Linked DNA regions of Homo sapiens: regions 2, 3, 4, 5, 6 and 7 are each linked to region 1. Evidence: promoter capture Hi-C in 16 types of primary human blood cells and fetal thymus (Javierre and others, 2016). All regions are on one chromosome and are shown on one strand. Each heading gives the region's core, a stretch centred on a gene start or on the middle of the fragment in contact. The rest is flanking DNA. Distances are from core to core; before and after follow the strand shown.

What was found. The method cuts DNA at HindIII sites, captures the fragments that hold promoters and counts their contacts. A CHiCAGO score of 5 or more calls a contact.
Region 2: a contact is called between a fragment that was not itself captured here and the fragment with the promoter of RTP2 in region 1, in 7 of 17 cell types (total B cells, naive B cells, monocytes and 4 more). The highest score is 16.3, in total B cells.
Region 3: a contact is called between a fragment that was not itself captured here and the fragment with the promoter of RTP2 in region 1, in 12 of 17 cell types (total B cells, naive B cells, non-activated CD4 T cells and 9 more). The highest score is 16.3, in total B cells.
Region 4: a contact is called between a fragment that was not itself captured here and the fragment with the promoter of RTP2 in region 1, in 6 of 17 cell types (total B cells, endothelial precursors, monocytes and 3 more). The highest score is 9.4, in total B cells.
Region 5: a fragment that was not itself captured here is called in contact with the fragment with the promoter of RTP2 in region 1 in 1 of 17 cell types (total B cells); the score reaches 5.5 in total B cells.
Region 6: a fragment that was not itself captured here is called in contact with the fragment with the promoter of RTP2 in region 1 in 2 of 17 cell types (naive B cells and endothelial precursors); the score reaches 7.7 in naive B cells.
Region 7: a contact is called between a fragment that was not itself captured here and the fragment with the promoter of RTP2 in region 1, in 4 of 17 cell types (total B cells, naive B cells, fetal thymus and 1 more). The highest score is 9.8, in total B cells.

What each region holds. Positions count from the first base shown.
Region 1 is chr3:187,701,257-187,704,071 of GRCh38, reverse strand. RTP2 (receptor transporter protein 2) reads left to right here and starts at 1,515. Exons shown (of 2, transcript NM_001004312.2): 1 at 1,515-2,107. The coding sequence starts at 1,944. LOC100131635 (hCG1645011-like) reads right to left here and starts at 1,706. Exons shown (of 3, transcript NR_034062.1): 1 at 1,533-1,706. The HindIII fragment of the contact is 5,389 bases long and covers 1-2,815 here.
Region 2 is chr3:188,973,144-188,975,913 of GRCh38, reverse strand. No RefSeq gene overlaps it. Among named protein-coding and RNA genes, the nearest start is that of TPRG1-AS1, 27 kb to the right of the region's middle. The HindIII fragment of the contact is 2,725 bases long and covers 1-2,644 here.
Region 3 is chr3:188,956,382-188,959,246 of GRCh38, reverse strand. No RefSeq gene overlaps it. Among named protein-coding and RNA genes, the nearest start is that of TPRG1-AS1, 10 kb to the right of the region's middle. RefSeq lists a silencer at 1,753-2,047 and an enhancer at 1,563-2,097. The HindIII fragment of the contact is 1,073 bases long and covers 956-2,028 here.
Region 4 is chr3:189,172,266-189,175,216 of GRCh38, reverse strand. All of the region lies in intron 1 of TPRG1 (tumor protein p63 regulated 1), which reads right to left. Among named protein-coding and RNA genes, the nearest start is that of TPRG1, 1.8 kb to the right of the region's middle. The HindIII fragment of the contact is 2,597 bases long and covers 171-2,767 here.
Region 5 is chr3:189,102,363-189,105,393 of GRCh38, reverse strand. It overlaps a transcript of TPRG1 not described here. Among named protein-coding and RNA genes, the nearest start is that of TPRG1, 68 kb to the left of the region's middle. The HindIII fragment of the contact is 1,962 bases long and covers 707-2,668 here.
Region 6 is chr3:189,141,736-189,144,789 of GRCh38, reverse strand. It overlaps a transcript of TPRG1 not described here. Among named protein-coding and RNA genes, the nearest start is that of TPRG1, 29 kb to the left of the region's middle. The HindIII fragment of the contact is 1,350 bases long and covers 908-2,257 here.
Region 7 is chr3:188,992,435-188,995,276 of GRCh38, reverse strand. No RefSeq gene overlaps it. Among named protein-coding and RNA genes, the nearest start is that of TPRG1-AS1, 46 kb to the right of the region's middle. The HindIII fragment of the contact is 2,736 bases long and covers 175-2,842 here.

The DNA.
Region 1 (2,815 bases), core at 266-2,765:
CACAATATACATTTGTGAGCTCTTAAATCGTGGGTTCTGGAATAAGATAGTGTCATTCGCGGAAAATTGAAGTAGTAATTGTGCTCACTGATTGTATGAAAAGTGAAAACAGTGCTGTTACACAGAAAGATGAATTCTATTGGTCTCTGCTTAGAAGCTGCTATGCTAAATTAAACCTGATACTAGGCCTAAGGGGATTGCATTATTTGAGGAAAAAAGAAAATACAGGTAAACCCTGACAATTCTCATCCTCTTTCTGTTTTTCCTTTATTGCCATTTGTTCTGGGAACAAGGGTATACTATTTCTCAGAGGTTCTTTCCTGGCACGAGGGTCTAGGCCAGGCCATAAGCTCATCTCAGCTTCGTTCAGTTCCTGGCCATTCATGGATCCCTCTGTCTCACCTGGTCTGGTAACTGGCTTCTAAGGGAATCCCCAGTGAGGTTTGAGCTACCCAGTCCTGAGAGCCTGGGCCAGTAATTTTCCATTTCCAGGCCTCAGTTGTTTTAATTCAATGTCAATAAATTTTGGTTAAGAAATGAAGAGTTCAAGAAATAAACCAGATTTTTAAAAATAAAAGAGCTCTTCTAGAGCTGTCAGTCAATGGTTCAAAGACAATTGTGTCCTTTCTGAGGTCTTTAGCACAAAGCCGCTAGAGTAACACTTTTCATTTCAAGAGAGAATCCAGTGACATTGTCCCTGACTTCACACTTCCTGAAAACCACTTGGCAACTCAACACCAAGAGCTTCCGGTTCTTAGCAACCTGTTTCACTTCTTGAAGCTCTTTACTGTTGGAACTCTGCGTGTCTAGGGATCCAGACTTCCGGGTTAAAGAATCGTAAGATGATTACAGTTGGAAGTTGGACCAAAGCTAGGGTAAGCAGCCATATGCCTGGTCTTTTCCATGCTCAAGGCAGCCTCCCTTCAGGTAACCGTGTCTTCACTTGGATTACCAAATTTGAAGTCAGATTCCCCTCTGGTTTCTAAAGAATTTGAATTGGGCATCACAGAGCTACGGATGCTCTCTTGCTCCAGCTCAGCAGTAATGGAGGCAGCAGGAGCCTGCAGCACAGAACAAACTCATTACCCCAGCAGCCACCTTAGCCTGGCTTGGGACCAGGAACTGAATATGGGCTCTAACAGTTCTATGACGCTATGAATCTGAAATGTTATTACTGTGCTTTGCATGGCATATGAAATTACATTCTAGCTCACCAACTGGTCTAAGATTGCCCTGGGCAAAGAGATGTTACTTCTCACTCAATTCCCTGTTAGGAGCACAATAGTACTAAAATAAATAAACAAATGAGCTCGGTTTCAGAAGGCCTAGATCTGAATCTTGGATGAGCCACTTAGGGGTTGCATAAACTTCAGTTTCCTGATCTGATCTGCTTTGGCCAGCACACAGGTCAAGCGGTTTGTGCTAGGCACATGGTAAGTGATGGTCACAGCATATCAGGGGGTGTGGAAGCAGCAGGCTCTGCCTTTCCCTGTCCCTCATTTCTCCTTGACTTCCTAGGGTGTCGTACTTACCATAGCACATGATGTGGAGAATGCTAGAAGAGCAGTTGGGTGAAGCAGGGCCACCAAATAGTCCTTGCCTCCTGGAGACCTCTGGAAATCCAGATGAGTGTGGTCTGAGGTTGGGCCTCCCACTGTGCTTGCTCCTCTCAGGCCTACCCAGCGCTGCCTCTGAAGCCTAACTCAGGGCCCTGAAACTCCCCCTTGGGGCTTCCCTTCTCCCCAGCCCTCACTCTTGGTGCCCTGCCTGGCTACCATGGTAACAGGTTCCAGGGTAACAGAGGAGGGAGCTGGGTCCTGTTTACTCCCAGTCCTGCCGATGAGGATTCTGACCGTAGACACTGAATTGTCCCGTACCTATCCGTGCTCTTTCTGTGTTCTCACCAGGGCTGAGCTCGAACTGCCACCTCTGCCAGCAGGACCATGTGTACCAGCTTGACCACTTGTGAGTGGAAGAAAGTCTTCTATGAGAAGATGGAGGTGGCAAAGCCAGCGGACAGCTGGGAGCTCATCATAGACCCCAACCTCAAGCCCAGTGAGCTGGCCCCTGGCTGGAAGCAGTACCTGGAGCAGCACGCCTCAGGCAGGTGAGAGGTTCAGTGGGGAGGGACCTTGCAGACAGCCCCTGGGTCACAGCTGTGGGGTACTTTCCAAGGAGAGACAGAGCCCAGTCGCGGGCTTATTCTGGTGTCAGCTCAGATGGGGAAAAAGACAAAGACAGCCGGCTGGGTCAGAGAGTTCTTGCTTTTAATCCTAGCAATACCACTAACTCCCTGGGTGACCCTGAGAAAGTTATGTTCCATCTTTGGGTCTTAGTTGTCCACATTAAATGAAGAGCTGTAATATCATCTATGTCCCTGCAATCTCTGACATTTAGAGTGAGTTGGAACTGAAGGAAGGAGGCCATGAGGTCCATTGGGGAAAGTTTTAATCTAGGAGTTGGGGGAATGCAGGGGGTACAGCTATGCTCTGTTCCTAGATATGTTTAGTGAATTAATCCAATTTGATCTGAATACATAAACATTTATTGACCACCTGCTGTGTGCTACGAACTGGCTCTATATAGCTAAGTAGCCTTGTAAACTTGGCAAGTCTGTTTCCCTTTCTGGCTCTCAGTTTTTATATTTACAAAATGAGGGGGTTGGTCTTAGATAATAGATCCAATCCACTCTAGCTCTATTATCTATGCACCTGTGATAAAAAGATTTAGCTTTGAGCAAAACTTTCTTTAGGAACTTAGAGCCCAGGGTCCCACTCTTTATAGGAGCTGCACATCTACCACAGGGCAAAGAGTC
Region 2 (2,770 bases), core at 33-2,532, 1.3 Mb before region 1:
CCCTCTAATAGTATTTATGAGTTAATTCATTATCCGTCACTTTTGCCTCTCTAACCAAGCTCTACTGTTGTCTCCCAAAGATTTTCAAAGATGCTGCTTTGGTGCTCATGGGTGGTTAAGCAGGAGTGAAGCTCTCTCCAGGGTTCTCTTCCCCAAGTCCCAGGCTGGCCCCTTTGCATTTGACTTCTGAGGCAGAAGAGTCTGTTCACGCTGCCGCACATGAGCCTATTATGCATTGTTTCCATTTCTCCGTCTACCTTGAGTAGCCTAATTACAAAGCAAGGAGCAATAACTGATATATCTATTATATGATGTTCTTGCAGCTGCTCTTTACCCTCCCCTCCCATCTCTCTGGGTCCCCTATGTAACCATTTTCTGACTCAGAGCACATTTGAAGCAAACTTGGCTCACAATGCATTTTGCAAATAAACCACAAAATAACATGATTGTAAAAAATGTTAACTGCAAAAGTAATAAATAAGAAACTAAATAAGTACGTAACCACAGAGCCTTGTCTGGCTCCTCGGCTCGCTGACCACAGCAGCTCTCTGTTGTCCGTCCTCACTACGGGACAGAGTGAGAACGCTAAGAAAAGGGGAAGACACACCATCCTCGCCCAGGGGTCTCATAGATGGAAGTTACACATAGATAGATTGTTCTCTCATTGTAAGACAGAAAGTTTTATGTCAGAGCTCCCCAATCTAGACAAGCATTGTCAGAGAAGAGGAGAAGCAGGCTGTTTGTCACCATGGTTTCATGTTCACCTATTGCTTTTGTGAGCACCTAACAGGGGTCTGGCTCTGTGCCTGGAGGCATACACATAGCATCTCATGTCACTCCTTAGCAACCCTCAGATGTGGGTATGATTAGTCCCAGTGCACAGAGGAAGAAACGGAAGTCCACCAAGAATCGAATAGCAGTTAGACCACAATATTTCACAGATGCTGCAAAGACTTTATACAGATGAGAGTGGAAAGAGGAGAGTGCAGCAGAAATACGCTGTGATGTCCTTCTCCCCCACCACCACTTCCAAGCCTGGCTGTTGAGATGTGCCCAGTGTCAAAAGAATTGGGGATTAAAACACCAAAGCCTAAATATCAGACTTGCCAATTATTTTACTTATATTTACTTTGAAACCCTGCCAGTCTAAAGACCGTCTTCACCAGAAGACTTCTGTGGCTGGGAAAAATCTCTCAAGGCAATGACCAGTGTAGTCCAGTCGAAAATGAAATGGGAAATTGAAAGCTAGGCCTGAAGCTGAATAATACAGTGCAAAATTTTCAATTCAGGGTCAGTACACAGTAATATTTTATGCCTCAGGACAGGGCTTAAGTATTAAGGACAGAAAAAGAGTCACTAATGTTTAATACATACAGAGACAGCAGCACGCTAGGCCCTATGGCCAGGACCCCTACATCACAGAACCGTGGAGGACCCTATTCACATTATCAGCTATGAATAGTGTCCCTCCTCCAGGGTCACACAACACACATGACCTGCAGAGCCCAAAACAGGCTTTTCTCAGGGAGATACCAAACACAAAACAAAAACCAGGGAAAACACAGTCTCAAGTCAATTACCAAGCAAGGGAAAGAGAAAGGTCCACATGCAAATGACAACTAGGGGAGGGGGTAGTTATAATTGCTCTGCATGAATTGAGAATGGAACCACTGCCCAGTTTACTAAGCATGCTCACATGCATTCATGCCTTTTTTTTCACAATAGCTCCACGAATAAGGGTTATTATTCTTATTTTCTGAATGGGAAAACAGGGGCTCAGAGAGGGGAAGGGACTTTTCTAAAATTTCCAACTTTTAGGTTGGAAGCCAAGACCCATATCCAAGTAGCCCCTGCCTCAGAGTTTCTCCCACTGCCCCCTCACTGGCACATTGGAAATGCAGAAGAAGAAGCATCAGCAGGAGCTCCGTGCGCCAGACTCCAGAGGGGAGTTGCAGAAAGCCTCAGTCAAGGAAGAAGCAAAAGAAACCTTAGGAGTGGAGGAGGCATAGACGCGATAAGCAGGAGTTTGGATGAGAGTGTATGACATAATGTGATCCACAGAACTTTGGAATTTATTAAAAGTCAAACCAAATTATTTCTTCTCTGATGAGCAGCATTCCAAATACTGAAGGTTTATGGTTTAAATACAAACTCCATTGTAACTCAATTAGGATGGAACTATTTCTAAAATCGATTATGCATTTGTCTATCTTCTAAGACAAAGCATAAAGAAAATAATTTAGCCTTTCACAAGGGGGCACACTGTAGGCTGTCACTTTCTTCACTGCAATATAATATATGATGACATTCTAGAGGACTCTCTAAATTTAAAGCACCTCTTGACTCCACACTCGATCCGGATTGCTGTGATTTTTAAGTGACTGAGGATTCGCGGCAGGGGTTCTGTTTATCTTGTTTTCTGTCTCCTCTCTTCTTATCAAGTCATCAACCTTGTACTTGTCTTCCTTTTTAGTAGGCCTGCCTATTGTAACCCATTCTTCCTCATCAAATGTGCTGTTTTGGGTCTTGTATATATCTATAGGTAGCCAAGTTTATTAACAGTTTGTGTAAACTAAAATTATTCAAGCTCTGAGTGAGGAACCATAGTAATCAGCAAATGATGTAGACATTAGCACACGAAGCTTGAGTCCTTCTTGGAGCTGTGCCTGCCTCCCTCACTCATTTTGCCAGGTTAATTTGTGTCTTTTTAAGATCTAACTTAAATGAAAAGATCTAAGTTAAATGAAACCTACCCCAGGAAGCACTCCAT
Region 3 (2,865 bases), core at 243-2,742, 1.3 Mb before region 1:
ACTTTCCAACCCAGTCCACCTATAATTGAGTGAGCTCTTGCCTAATCCTCACTCCTCTAGAGGGGTGATCCTGTGGTTCTAGCCAACTTTAAGTCAAATCCCAGGCACCTCAAGGCCTCCCAGGATGCCAGTGTTGAAAAACTGGTGAATTATTGCATAATGTGGGGTTTTACAATCATCGAAAGAATAAAACAGAAAAGAAAAATTAGCAAAAGGTAAAGCCTTAAATCTTTCCCCGTTCATACATTTCATACCTTTATTTACAAAGTTGGTAATTGTGAAGTTCATTCCATTTTGTATTTTTCTTTCTTCACTTAAAATACTATCATGAACAATTTTCCTTATTGATAATAGTTATATTTTAGAATTACAGAATTTGACTATGAAATTTTCAAGGTTCATTTCTAATTCCAAAAACAAAGTCTGGCCTGTTCTTATTTTTTTGGACTTTTTTCCTTCATTCCAACAGAGTCATTGTAATTACTACATGAGTGACGAGCAATAACCACCAAATGATACTTGGCCAAAATATCACAATAAAATGATTACCTTGTTGCTAAATATTTAAGTTGCTTCTAGTGTATTTGGCTAAAATATCACAATAAAATGATTACCTTGTTGCTAAATATTTAAGTTGCTTCTAGTGTATTTGCTATTACACATAATGCTGCAATGAACATCTTTGCACAGCATATTATTTCTATAACATGCATTCCCCAGAAGACAAGGCTACAACGAGTGTGTCCATGTTTATGGCTTTTACATTTTGAAAAAGCAAGATGTAATATTGATAGTGTCCACATATGGCCCTACACTGTTCAAATCTTAAGACATCAAACATTGGATCTTGTTCTAGATCCTGAGTGACTATTACTGAATTGCTAAAGTGAACAAACATTAATTTAACAGAGGGTTTGAAAGCTGAATTCTTGGGGCCTAGTTCAGAGACAAAGCTTACTTACTGTCAAGGGGAAAAGGATCTGCGGAAAGTGCCTGCAAAAAGGAGACTTATGGAAATAAAAACGGATCTTACAGGAATTGTTGAAAGACCAAATCCTCAGGAGATTAGCACTCAGGAGATATTAAGTAAACCAGTTTTCCTGGATCTCACTCTGATATCTGAATCTTAATACTAAAGAAATACTTTCACCTATTACAGTTCAGTGTCAGCTAATCAGAAATTTTGGCTAAAGCTAGGAATCATATAAATACATATATTTTAACTTAAGACTTTCACTTGCCAGTAGGTAGAGCCAAGGCCTCTCTTTAAGTGCACATTTTCCATTTGTGAAGCTCCATCTCATTTTTCTTGAATAAATCACTCCCATCATGCATCCTCTATTAGTTGAAGTTTCAGGTATTTTTGTTTTTGTTTTCTTTTCTTTTGTTCTTTGTAGCAGATAAAAACCTTAGAAACTTGCACAATTATTCTGGATTTTAATCTTTGTGTTATTCTTCTACAGTTATCTCATCCACAAACTAATTTTAGATCATTTTTTCAGCAATTCTTCCCTCTTGAGCCTTTCCAAAGCAATCAATTTAATTTTTATGGACACAGTCTCTTTATTTTTATACTTATATTTCATCTATTTGCATAATATTTAAATTATATAATTGCATTTACTAATAAAAGTAGCATAAACGGGTTTGAGGAAAAAATCAGCTGGTTCTTTGTATGCATCAGATTTGATTAATGGGAGAAGACAGACATCAGGAAACTAGAAAGCAGCCTACCACCCATGAGCACTTAGCATGCTATGAGCATCTGTCAGAATGTACAAAGGGAATGGAGAACTTAGGTTGGTTACCTGAGAGAGAGTTACATCTACTGAACAATTAAGTGCTCCTCATCACGAAAGAAAAGGAAAGAATGCGGACTGAATCCTGTGCCCTGAAAGTCGAATCAGCATATACCTGCTGTTTCTATGTCACCAAGAGGCTGATTCCAGGTGGGAGACTCTGGAAGATGAAGCGATTGGATCTTGAACCCAGAGCACCAGCAAAAGGTCCTGAGTTCCATAACAAGCTTTACTCCAGAGTCGCTGGTGTTGGGGAAATATTTGTAGTCATTTGGTCTAAGTTCCCTTGTTTTAGAATTAGACAATTTGACTCTCACATTTCTAAGGTTCGTTTTTAATTCCAAAACAAAGTCTGGTTGTTATCATTCTTTTTGGCCTTTTTCCCTTAGGTCCAATGCAGAGACGATGACCACTAGGGGTCAGACTTTTTACATTACTCCTCTTGAAAGAAGGAACCCAAGTCTTGGATTTTTTAACTGGGGAAAAACTAGAGAGGTCGTCTATCCTGGTAAGTAATGCTTCATTTAAACTCATTCAACATGTGTGACTATTATATTCTTAAAGATTTCTAAGAAATAGAGGTTTCATGATGCTCCCTTCCAAGGAAGTTTTTGATATCTAACCTAGATCCTTCAAATGTAATTTCAATCTATTTCTTATTTGTGATGTCTCAGTGGAAACTATTAATCATTGACTATTATCCTCTGAGTAAGAAATGTATTTATCTGAGCATGTATCAGTTCATGTCTCATTTCTCTAGCTGTCAAATAGGGGTCTAGGACTAGAATCACTTTTTCAATTAATAGTTCAATAAATAAGCAAGAAAAATAAGGTTCCAACTTAAATAACTCAAAATCAAACTGCCAGTCAATGGCTGGGCCAGGATTAAAATTGGGTTTTACATAACTCCAAAGTCCACATTGTTCTCACTAAGAACACTTCTTGCTGTCTCTTACTTAGTGCTCCTGCTGGCCTCTGGCTACTTGGGAGAACCATCGGCCTTTTCATTTAAAAAAAAAAAAAAAGTGAAAGTGGGGGATGAAGAAAGAGGGTCCCCTCAAGCTGT
Region 4 (2,951 bases), core at 220-2,719, 1.5 Mb before region 1:
TTGCCATAAATCTCTTCTTCGTGAGACCTCAATATTTGCTTTCTTCTTCGTCTTGAAATATTTATCATATTCTGTCTTGCATTATAGTTACTTGTGTACACATTTTCAATACTAGATGGTAAGCCCCTTTGAGAAAGGGTCTCTACTCTTTACCCCTAAATCCCTAAGCTTAGGGTTGTATAATACACCATAGGTGATCAAAAGGTGATTATTATATTAGTGGGTGAATAAGAGAAAACATATCATTAAGCTAGTCTCTAGTATTTCAGCAATTTGGATTCTTTGGAAACAGGGCATTATATTGCTATCTATGTGCTATCATACATCATAATTTCTTTTCTTGTTTTTATGCCATTGATCGATTGAGTAAAGAGGATTACCCTGCAAGTATCAACTGTCCTTCCTATTCTTTTATAGGCATCTAAATATTATGCTGCAGCAGTGTCATCTTGCTTAATACTTTAGCATTCAAGTCACTGAGTTTTGATAGCTAGCTGAAGAAAATATCCTGGGTAGGTATCAGAGCCAACGGTATGTTCTACTGAAGTCATCATATATCCTATATCTCTTACATAGTGAGAGGTTAGGAACAAATAATTAACTTCACCTCTTCCCTGGTGCCATTAACCTGTAGCCTGGTCTGTCATTATGTAGAACTAGGTTTCCGTTGAAAGAGAATGATTGAAAGGAATCCTAATACCTAAGAGATTGGAAGAGATCAGAAGTGGAAAATTCAAACACTTGGTAGCCTAAATCAGGTAAAATGGGAGCTGTGGAGGATGGGGGAAAACATGTTCTATCTACAGGAAGAAGTTGCTGCCCGGCCCCAGCACAGGTGTTATCCATGAGGGGATGTGGGTCCATTATTATCAGATCTCCTGATCTTCCTGAAAACAAGATATCTGGATTTTTTACAGGAAATTTCCTAGATATCAAATACTTTGGAACTAGTTTTATCTTGTTTAACATGGCAGCACAAACAAAGCACATCTGCATGCTGGATTCACCTGTGGCTGCTGCTCTGCAAGCTCTGGAGTAAATGAATTCTCGGACTTGACGCTGCCATTAGATTAAACAATGTTGAGTAAAATATCAACTATCACTTCAAGTTTTAAAAGGATCAAACTGAGTGGCACTTATTTAGGAAGATCCCAGAAAATATAAAAATCCAGACAGGCTGAAGAAAATGAAGATGCCACCACCTCTTGCCCATCTCCCCATCTTATACCTAAGGAGCAGCTCCAACATTTGGCCGAAGCAAATATTCCAGAAGAACCAAGTCAATAAAGAGAGAGGCTTCTCTGACAGATTTCCCTGCTCTAAAGGGCATGATACCATCTCCAGTAGATGCTAAGCAAAGGTCAAAGTGCCCTAAAACTCTTAATTGGAAGAAATCTTAAAGGACATCTAGTTACAGTCTCCAAAATGACATGGCTAATGCTTCTGCTTGGGACTCCTAGCACCATTCACTACATATTGTGGGCAATGAAAGAGTAAGAGACCCATATGTGACTTGCAGCTCCAATGATACTGGCTGTGTGACTTGTGCATATCACTTCATCTTTCTGGGCCTCAGTTTCTCTGTTTTGAATAAAGTAATCAATTAAACGATTTCTTCAGGATCCTTACAGCCAGAAAGACACCAAGAATATATAGAAGTTCCAGCCTGACCAACATGGTGAAACCCCGTCTCTACTAAAAATACAAAAACTAGCCAGGTGTGGTGGTGCATGCCTGTAATCCCAGCTACTCAGGAGGCTGAGGCAGGAGAATCGCTTGAACCCGGGAGGTGGAGGCTGCAGTGAGCCGAGATCGCGCCACTACCCTCCAGCCTGGGCAACAGAGCAAGGCTCTGTCTCAAAAAAAAAAAAAAAGAAGAAGAAAAGAAAGAAAAAGAATATATAGAAGTCTGCCAAAGATTATATAGCATTACAACCCAATGCATTTGTGGTGGCCCCAAGGGATGACTATCAGTACTGTCATAATAAACTCAAACAGACACACACACACATACACACATGCACACACACACAGAGGAAACATTTCCTTCCACAACTAAGAATGATATAACCTTTTGAGCATGAAAAGAAAAATGATAGCTAAAATTAGCATCTTAAAAAGTAAACTACATAATAACTGAAGATGAGATTTCCTTAAAACTGTAGAACAATGAGATACTATGATAGCTGTCACAAGAGAGGAAATTGCATGAGTGTATTTGAAAGGATTTGGGGGTGTTTTTCCCCCATTGAGATTTGCTTTTCTACATACCACAGTGTGACTGAAAAGCTAAAATATTTCCCCAGGGCCTGTATGATCTGTGCCTCACTACGCTGCCTCTGACATTTGGAGAGTGTCATTTAGCCCCGAATTAAAACCTGCTTATACAGAGATCTGGAGGATGTCTCAGGCGCCAAGTAGTCATCGCTGTCTCATTTGCCTATCACCTTTCAGTTTACAACTCCCCTTTACATACATGCCCTCGTTTGTTCTCTAAAAACAGCCCTGTTTGATGGGACCTATATATTATTATGAAATTTCCCTCAGATGAATTCAAAAATAACCCTCTCAAACTGCCTGCAAAGAAATAATCACCTTTTGTTTGCCATTTAACGGTTCAGAAAGGCTTTTCACTTCTTTTGGCTTTTGGGGATAAGGTATGACCTGCTGGGTTCTATAATAGAGGAAGAGGGAAGAAGGAATCAAATCTAATCTTGGCCTTAACCTGCTGATCCAATTGGAACAAATCACTTCAATTGACCAAGCTTCAGTTCACTAAGCCACCAAATGGAGAAAATTATACCCATCCTACTGCACTATAGGGCAGTTAAGATCAAAATCAATATATAGATAAGTATGTCAAGTGGCTTTATAGGCTAAAAAATGCTAGCCTACAAGCCTCATCAACCCTGGACAGTAAGGAAGAATAGGGAAATTTCACATGGTAATGC
Region 5 (3,031 bases), core at 438-2,937, 1.4 Mb before region 1:
ATTCCTCTGGAAGTCAATTCAGAAGCCATAAATTTCAGTACAGATTACATTCCATCTGAGGGCCATATAGAGAAGATTCAGGTGCTTTTCAGGACCAACATCATGAGTAAGCTTTAGAGTTTCTTCTAGCACTGAGACATACCATTGAAAAAAGCCTCCTTAACGAAAGATTTAGGACACTATTCTCAGTAAAATCAAGTCTCATCTCCCCAAATTATCGATCAATTAGAAATTCTGATCAGGAGTGGGATGTCCTTAATAACACCAACATCAGAGAGTTGTAGAGAGCTTTGTAAACTATAAACGGTTTCTACAAACCACTGAGCCATGAAAAGAAATTTTATTGGAAATCTTTAGCATTTCTCAGTATGAGTTTAGAAGAAAGAGTTTGGTTAGGGAATTAGAGTAGAAGGACCCAGGTACCTGGCTTGTGCCAAAGTGTTCTGTATCAGGTCTTGGAAAAACTTGAATTATGATTTTTCAAAGCTGATGGGGATGGGTCAGTAAAATTATGGAGCCAGAGGAGACCCTGAAGGTTGAGGAGTTATGCAGATGAAGGTAACAGGGCAGAGGAAGGCATTTTAAATATGAGACAAAGAGCAATACTGTCCAAAGGAAGGAGGCACATCCAAGAAAATGCACACATTAATAGTTCAGGTGGGTATATGTTGTGTGAGCTAGTCTGGTTAACAGGGAAGCTAAAGCTTAACTCGTGAAACAGTAGACATTGATCTAGTAGACCGAGGGTTCTTAATCTCCAGTTTCTGTTCGTCTTCTGAACAAGTAAATATAGTCTCTTATAGGTACAAATCGGGGCTTTCTTCTGACACCCTACAGTTTCCCTTAGGGAATGCGCCAACTCAGACTGAGCCAAGTGAGAGTCCTGGGCTAATATTTATGTTGACTTAAGTCTGATTAGAAGACAAGATGGGACATAGAGTTTGATTAAAATTTTATTGGATAATCATGCTGATTGAATTTTAAAAGATAATCTGCTGTAATAAATTCTCCCTTAATTTCCCTTTGCAATTCCAACCCAGATGAGTGCTAGGATATTTAGGTTGCATTTACTGAATATCTACGCCTGTCAAGCACTGTGGTTAGTGCTCTATCGTCAGTACAAGCCTGTGAGGTAGATGCTATTCTCATCTCACAGAAGAGGCTCAAAGAGGTTAATTTCTTTCTTTATTTATTGAGTCAACATACATCAGTTAAGCACCTCCTAAGTGCTACTGTTGGGGGGCATCTACCAGGAGCTACCATGGGGACACCTACTGCCTTGTCTATGTAGCTCTCCCTTATTCTGGGAACAGTACCTCTTTCGTTCTTGGCTCATCCTCTATCTTTAGTCTATCCATAAGTATCACTAACATTTCTGTTTTCTCACCTAACCCCTCTTCCTTGACCACATCAATGGTAAACTGACTTAGTATTTTGGAATATGGGACTAAGACAAAGTCAGGATAAAGGCTCATCAATGACTGAAAACTATAAAATGAAAAACTCAGGAACTGTGATGGGCCGTGATTTTTGCCAGCTAGAGGAAGTCCACGGTGAAAGGGAAAGATGAAGCTGACATGATGAGAAACAGCAGAGACACAAGACAGAGGCTGGATCCTGATAACAATCATTACTCCACATCATTGCTGTGTCTTTTCAAGAACTGGGTGTTCACCTCTTTCTTAGACCCCCTGATTATATCCCAGTATCCTTCAAAAAATTCTTTTGGTGTGAGCTTGGCTTTTGGGGGTTGTTTTCTGGCTTATTTTTACTTCTAATAGTCTGTCACCATGTTAGGCATGTAAGCCAAAAGATTAAAAAACATACAGTCTCTGTCTCATGATATATAAGAAATATTTCATAAGGACACATGGAATGATTGTCCGTGGTGTAGGGAAGGAACATGATCCCCTAGGGTATGTATCTGAATCATCCAACTCTAGTTTTCCCTTGACACTCCTCCTCTGCAAGATCTTGATCCACTTTCTCCCTCAGGGTCTGGCATCTCTGGCTAAGAATTTTGTAATAGTGATGCACAGTAATAGATGAAAGGGGACTGCAAACATTTTCTGCAAAAGGTCAAATAGTAAATATTTTAGCTTTGGGGGATACATAGACTCTGTTACAACAATTAAACTCTGCTCTTTTTATCCAAAATCAGCCATAGAGCACACTGAATGGGCATGCTTCTGTTCCAATAAAACTTTATTTACAAAAACAAGTGGCAGGATGACTTTGGTCACTGGGCTGCTGTTTGCCACCCTGGCTCTAGGTATTTGGAGGCAAAGTAAAGTTGAGAATCATGATGTGGAGAGTTAATTGATTGGCAGAAATAGGTACCAGGTGCTCTGGAATTACAGACGAAGCACCAAAATAAACCACAGGCATCAAGAAAAATATATTTCTGCAAAAGATGACACCTGAGCTGAGACAAGTTTAAGAGGAAGTTAGCCAGAGCAAGGAGAGATGAACAGAAAAATCAGCATTTACAAGTGCAATGAGCTTTGGTAGACCCTGGCGTTTGAGGACCTACCAGAAGTTCCCCATGATTGGGCAAAATAAGTGTTAGGAAAAATGGCAAGAAATATTAACATGATGAAGCACAAAAGCAAGATAAAGTTTTAAAAAAATTAATAAACAAAGAAATTTGAACTTTATCCTAAAAGCTTTGGGGAACCATGGAAGAATTTAAAACAAACAGAATGAACATCGTCTGATTCCTTCTTTTTTAAAAAAATTAATTATCTCTTAAAGCTATAAAAAGTAGGAACAGGGAGGGATTCCAGGTAGGAAAACATGGCAATTATTCAGACGTGAAGGGATGAGGGCCTGAATTTAGGCAATAGAGTCAATTTACATACTAGAACTGATGGAACACAACTTAGAGACAGGTAACATGTAGGGCTGAGAAAGAAGAAGAAAACTATTCACAAGGAAATTGGATGGATAAGAGGGAAAAGCCACCAATATTGGAACATGTGAGGCATGGTGAATGCAGCTTGGTACATGTTGTGTGTGAGATGCCTGTGGG
Region 6 (3,054 bases), core at 333-2,832, 1.4 Mb before region 1:
TAATAAGAAAAGGAAATGGGGTGTGTCTAACACAACCTGTTTATGGTAAACTCCTATTAACTTCTAGTGATCAGTGTCTTTTCTTCAAAATACCCATGAATCAGTTGTGTAATGATCTGTTCCAAAATTTCAGCAAAAACCAGTAGGAAACTCATACTATTTCCTGGCTTCACTGTTTAGTCCTGTGATAAGATGCAAGTAATCCCCTTTATTAAAAGAGAAAATCCTGTGAATCTACCAAAATATTAGCTGTTTCCAGGGCTATTGAGAAACTCCCACACCTACACCCCCAGTTATATTTTAATGCTCAGTTTGACAGCAGAACCACCTGCCTCTTTGTTTCGAAATGTGAAGTCACATCACTATTTTATGTACTGTTTCCTCTTCATTGCCTATATGTCACCTGGAGGAGTATTTGGCTAAATATTCCTAAACCCACAATTAAAGGTTAAAAATACCTTGAAATTGCAGGAACAAATGGTTGCCTATAAGTTATGTGGATCTCTGAAGTCCACTTATAGGAAACAAAGCTTTCTTGCCACAACCATATTGAATCCAGGAGGATGTAGGTGATGTCTGCTTGTTCATCATTGTACTCCCAGTGTCAAGAGCATAGCAAGGGCTCAAGAAGTATTTGTTATAGTGAGCAAGGAGAAGACAATAATGAGAATATGTATACTCTTAACAGAGATAACTCAAAGTTTTAAAATCGTAGTAAAACATGTATGACTGACATGAGAATGTTTCCAGAAAGCAGATCTGGTCATTAGACTGTGGGAAGAGTTCCTGAAGATCCTAAAGTAGGAAGCTACACAGAGAGGAAATGGAAGAGGAAAGCAAAGTGTCTGGGGGAGTTTCACCGGAAATGATTGAATAAGTCACGCTATTGGAGAGAGAGGCCCAAGCTTCAAGCCCCCAGTCTTCCACCATTAGCTGTTTCCTACTGGAAAAGCCTGCATCTTAACAGGGTCCCATTTTCCAGTAGATTTGACAGAGACCAGAATCCAAATCTCACAGGAGTGCTGTGGGAATCAATTGTGGTAAAACATATGAAAACATGTTATGAAATCAGTGTCACCTACACCTAAGTCTGGGTTGGGGTCAGCCTGAGTAAAAGACCAAGGGATTACAAAGAGGTGTCTAGGATGAATTAAGAGGTTACTTCCTAATGTGGGTTCTCAGGCTACCTGGAAAAGATTCTGACTCAAGAAAAATGTTGGCCCCCTCCAGGTTGAGGAGACCATACTCACACAGTATTGGAGCAGCTTTTGTATGACAGAGCCATACAAATATGCATCCAGCTTCCAGCTCTCTAGTCAGCTGCAATTTAGAACATCCTACTCTGAGTTTGTCACTTTTCTCAGACAACCATCTTCTCCTCCTAACTTCCTTATTTATCATCGACAGGCAGTATCTCAAGCCACTTGGGCCTGAAACTTGTGTCCTCATTGTCAACCTTGAAGCATATAGATGTCATTCGGAGAAATCCTTTGACTGCTCTCAGCCCAGACTTCCTCATCTGGAGAATGGAGATATTACCAGCGGCTCCTACTTTGTTTCAGTGTTTTGTGGGAATCATCTGATGGATGTAAAACCTTTTGGAAAATGTAAAATCCTATATAAAAAAAAGATGATCCTAAAAATTGCAATATTATAGGATTAAACCAGAACAACAACCTTCATCTAGGTTATACATGAAAATCGAGTTTAAAAATCTCTTATTTAGTAATACCAAAAGATACTGGTTCAAAGAATCATGACTATCACTTGTATAATCTTTCTACTTGTTCTCTAGCTAAATGCCTTAAATCTATGGAGTTCTAATACTGAAAGAATTAAGAAAATCATTGCCACATTAAAGGTGAAAGTTTTTAAAAATATATTAATGAGGTGGTGGGAAGTAGGCTGACATTAAAGTAGGTTTGGAAGTGTTTGCTTTCTCTAATTAAATAGAGCTAATGAGTTTCTCCACTGAGCCTGAGCACTGGGCTAAACAGTCTCACAAGCCTCTGGTTTCTGTGATCTCAGTAAGAGATGGCCAACTGGCAGCCGAAAATAATCTGCATCATGGGGTGATTCATCCTTCACACCTTTGGGTGAAACCTTCCTGTCAGAATGCAGGAACAGGTTGCAAGCACCATGCAGGGTTGAGTTAGAGTCTCTTTGGTCTTCAGAAGCTGCTGACCCCTCACTCATATCAAGAGACTGTAGCACAAGGTCACTACAACAAGAATCAGAGAATGGCAAAATGAAAGCTTCCACAGATCACAAATCAGAGCTGGGAACAAAGTGACAAGGAGGAGATAGAATTTAACTGAACCACCCATCGTTGAAAATGGGGGCAGGGGGTAGGATCTAGAGATACAGAAGGCATGCCTCTACCCTCTCCTTACTCACAAGCATGGGATATGGGTTTTAAAAAAAGAAAATGAAGACAATCTAGCATATCTTCAGTGCTTTTGTGGGGTCTGCAGGTATAATCAATCCCTTGGTGTAGTTTATAAAGCCATTTATGACCTGGCCCAGCTTTCCTCTCCATTTCTGCACATTCCCTGAACATCTCACCACCACCTCGCATCACCACGAAGATGGAAGGAGCTTCTCCCAGACCTGGACGCGTCCTCTGTACGTGCTGCCCGTCCTGCCCGAAATGACCTGTCTTTCCTCTGCACATTCTAAGTCTTCCTTAGTGGAGCCACCTGCTCAGCAAAGACATTCCTGACCACCCCCTTTCTGTCACCCTGTTTCCCCCAGTTCCTCAGACTCCTTAAACTTGGTCCCTCTTTCAGGTCTTTGAACAGGTGCTTGTCTCCATCTTTGTCATCCTTATTGCAATTTATCTCTCAGGTCTCCACTTAAATACCACTTGGAGGAGAAATCCTTCATATCCCATTGACTTCTCCAGTCAGGGCCCCATCTAATTTTCTACTAGAATCCTGTTCTCTTCCTTCATTACACTTGTCACAGCTTTTTAAAGTAATCAATCAATAAAAAATATAGTGTATGAACTTGATTTAAGACTACACACACAAATACTTGAGACTGTAACGTTGG
Region 7 (2,842 bases), core at 293-2,792, 1.3 Mb before region 1:
TGGTGGTGGTAATAAGGAGAAATAGGCAATGCCTTTAACAGGAAAGGACCTGTCCCTAAACCCCAGTAGACAGCTATTTACATCTTCTTTAGAAGGCTGTATCTTATGGACATATTTGCTGCAAGAAAGGCTAGGAAATGATTTCTAAAGCTGGACATATTGTTACCTTAAGCTTGTATGCGGCTCCCATTAGTAAAAGAAAAAAGGACAATGGATGTTGGATATATAACTAACAGTTGGGTACCAATTGCTACATGCACTTGATGGATGATTTAGTGCATTTGGTTGTGTATAAAATAATAATGCAGAGTATTTTATAAAACAGAACATCTGGAAACAAATTAGTTATATGTATTTAAAAATAAGAAAAATTAATAAACAAGGCAACTATTGACTTCAGGGAAAACAAAGAACTGTATAAAAACTCAAGCAATCATAATTTATTATTTATCTTAACAATAAACCTTGCTTTTACAGTCATAATAATATAAACATTGAAATCTTTCTGACTTCAGAAGATAAGAAAAAATATTTCAAACTTAGCCTTTAAAGTTCAATTTATTCATCCTTGCTCAACTCCTGAGCCCCAGGTTACAATGCATCAAGAACCTCCCTGAGGAGACTAATAATAACTAATATCACAGACACCCTGGGTTCAAGTGGATATCACATCAATTAAGACAACTCTCCGTCTTAACTCTTTAAAATATCTCTAGCAAGTGGTTACTTAGCTTCTGCTTGAACACATCCACTGACAAGGAGCTCACTGGTCTGGACAGTTTATTCAATTTCTAGACAGCTCATTCAATTTCTGGACAGCTCTAAACACTGCAAATCATTCCCTGTAATCAGGTGAAGGGACCTACTCTAACTTTAATTTAGTCTTTCTTTTTTACTCCCTTAAGTCCTACAGAACATACAGTTCTTCTTTCACAGGAGGAATAGATATCTGCTATTTGAATACTATTGCCAAGCTATGCACTCTCTGTCCTCTTTATGTTAAATTCTTTAGGCCCTTCAAACATTTTAAAATGATATGGTTTTATATTCCAGTGACATTTTAGACATGTTATCTGGAATACATGTCATCTAGTTAATGTCCCTCTTAAAATGTGGCACCATAGCAGAACATGGTTGCCAAGGAAAAAATATGAAAAACCATGTTTCCAAATTTCATTTTCTATTAGGAGATACCTTGTAATATGATTAAATTTCCTTTTAAATCTTTTTGGGATCGTCTTGGAAGAAGATAAGATTGTTGGTCTTTAAAAAAAAAAACTTACGGAAAAGTATGAATTCCATCTTCTAGAACTTTACGACATGTTTCCATTCACTATCCACAATACTAAAAAAGTGCCAAAGTCTAGGTATGAAGTAAGAAAAAATGGGGTCTGGGTGAGCCATTCTCTCTTTTAGGAATCAAAGAAGAATTGTAAACTAAGATATTTTTCAACAATCCTAAATATCAGATTACTTTAGGATAAAATTATTTTCCAATACTCTGTCCTAGTCACATGGAGAAGATGTCCCAATTTGCTGAATTCAAACAGCCAGAAGCTGTTTCTGATCTGCAGTCTTCTTCAGTGTTCTTTTTCTTCGTATCTGCTTATTCCTCTTTATACTGATTTAGAACACACTAATGGAAGTAGCCTGACACGTGGCTTTCCATTTTGCCACTCTTTCTCAAGAAATGTGATTAAAGAACTTGGAGTGGGCTGCTTTATGCACAAATATTCAGACAGTCTCTTAGCAATAAATGGCTGTCGCTTCTATTATCTGTCTGGCTCTGAGTTCTATTATCTGTTGTGAATTGGTGCAGGGCTCTGTAAAACAGTTTTTAGGCAGCCTCATTACACCCTTCCACACCTTCTGCTCCATCTGAGTGATACTGCTGTGATTGCTGGGTAATGTTTGCCATTAGACGAGGCACAAAAAAGAATCAAGCTATGACTAATTCACTCGATGGCTGTGTGCCCTGTGTCATGCTCATTAACACCTCTCAACTCTGTTATTAAAGAGAATCACACAGCAGACCTCAGCGGGCTCACATTTATACTATAGGCTGCCTTATTTTTCCATTGGAACCCCATTTTTATCACAGACTAGTCCTGAGCACCCTTACCTTCTACCCCAGGCCTATTCCATCCTGTTACACTCATAAATGCTTAGGAGAATCTACTGATAAGAAAGGCCTTTAGATTGTCTGAAAATGAGGGTTTTGCCCACTGAAGAATCAGCCAATTTGATTTCAGCTGAAAAGTCATCCTGAGATGCTCCTAATGAAAGCTCAATGAAAGAAATAACAATAACAACACCTTAAACTATTTGTTGAATTTATTAAAGTATATCCAGCCCTTTTATAACCATTATTTCCCTTGAGGTTCACAGCAACCCTGTATGGTAAGCTGCATAAACAGTACCCTACTATTAGCTTCAACACTAGATTTCTAACTCAGAGGCGACATTATATAAAAGACTAATAGCTCATCTACAATGCTGAGCAAAATGTAAAGGAATAGCATCATTTTTGTTAGGCTTTCTCAAGCATAGTAATCAAAGTAATAGAAAAAGCAGAAAGAGAGAGCGAACATTTTTCTTAGTACTGACTCATGTGTTCTAAGATGATAGGGGCATCATACTTACCTTCCTTAGTCATTTAACTCCAACTGAATAGTCAGTCAGTCAGAAGTCCATAGGACTTTGGGGTCCATAGGGTAAGTATTGCAATTGTTCACCAATATCTAGATATGCTCTACTTCTGAGTACATGAAGGATTCCACTAATCCACCTCTCGAAGTTGGACATGGCCATTTGACTTGATTTGACCATGAAATGTGAGTGG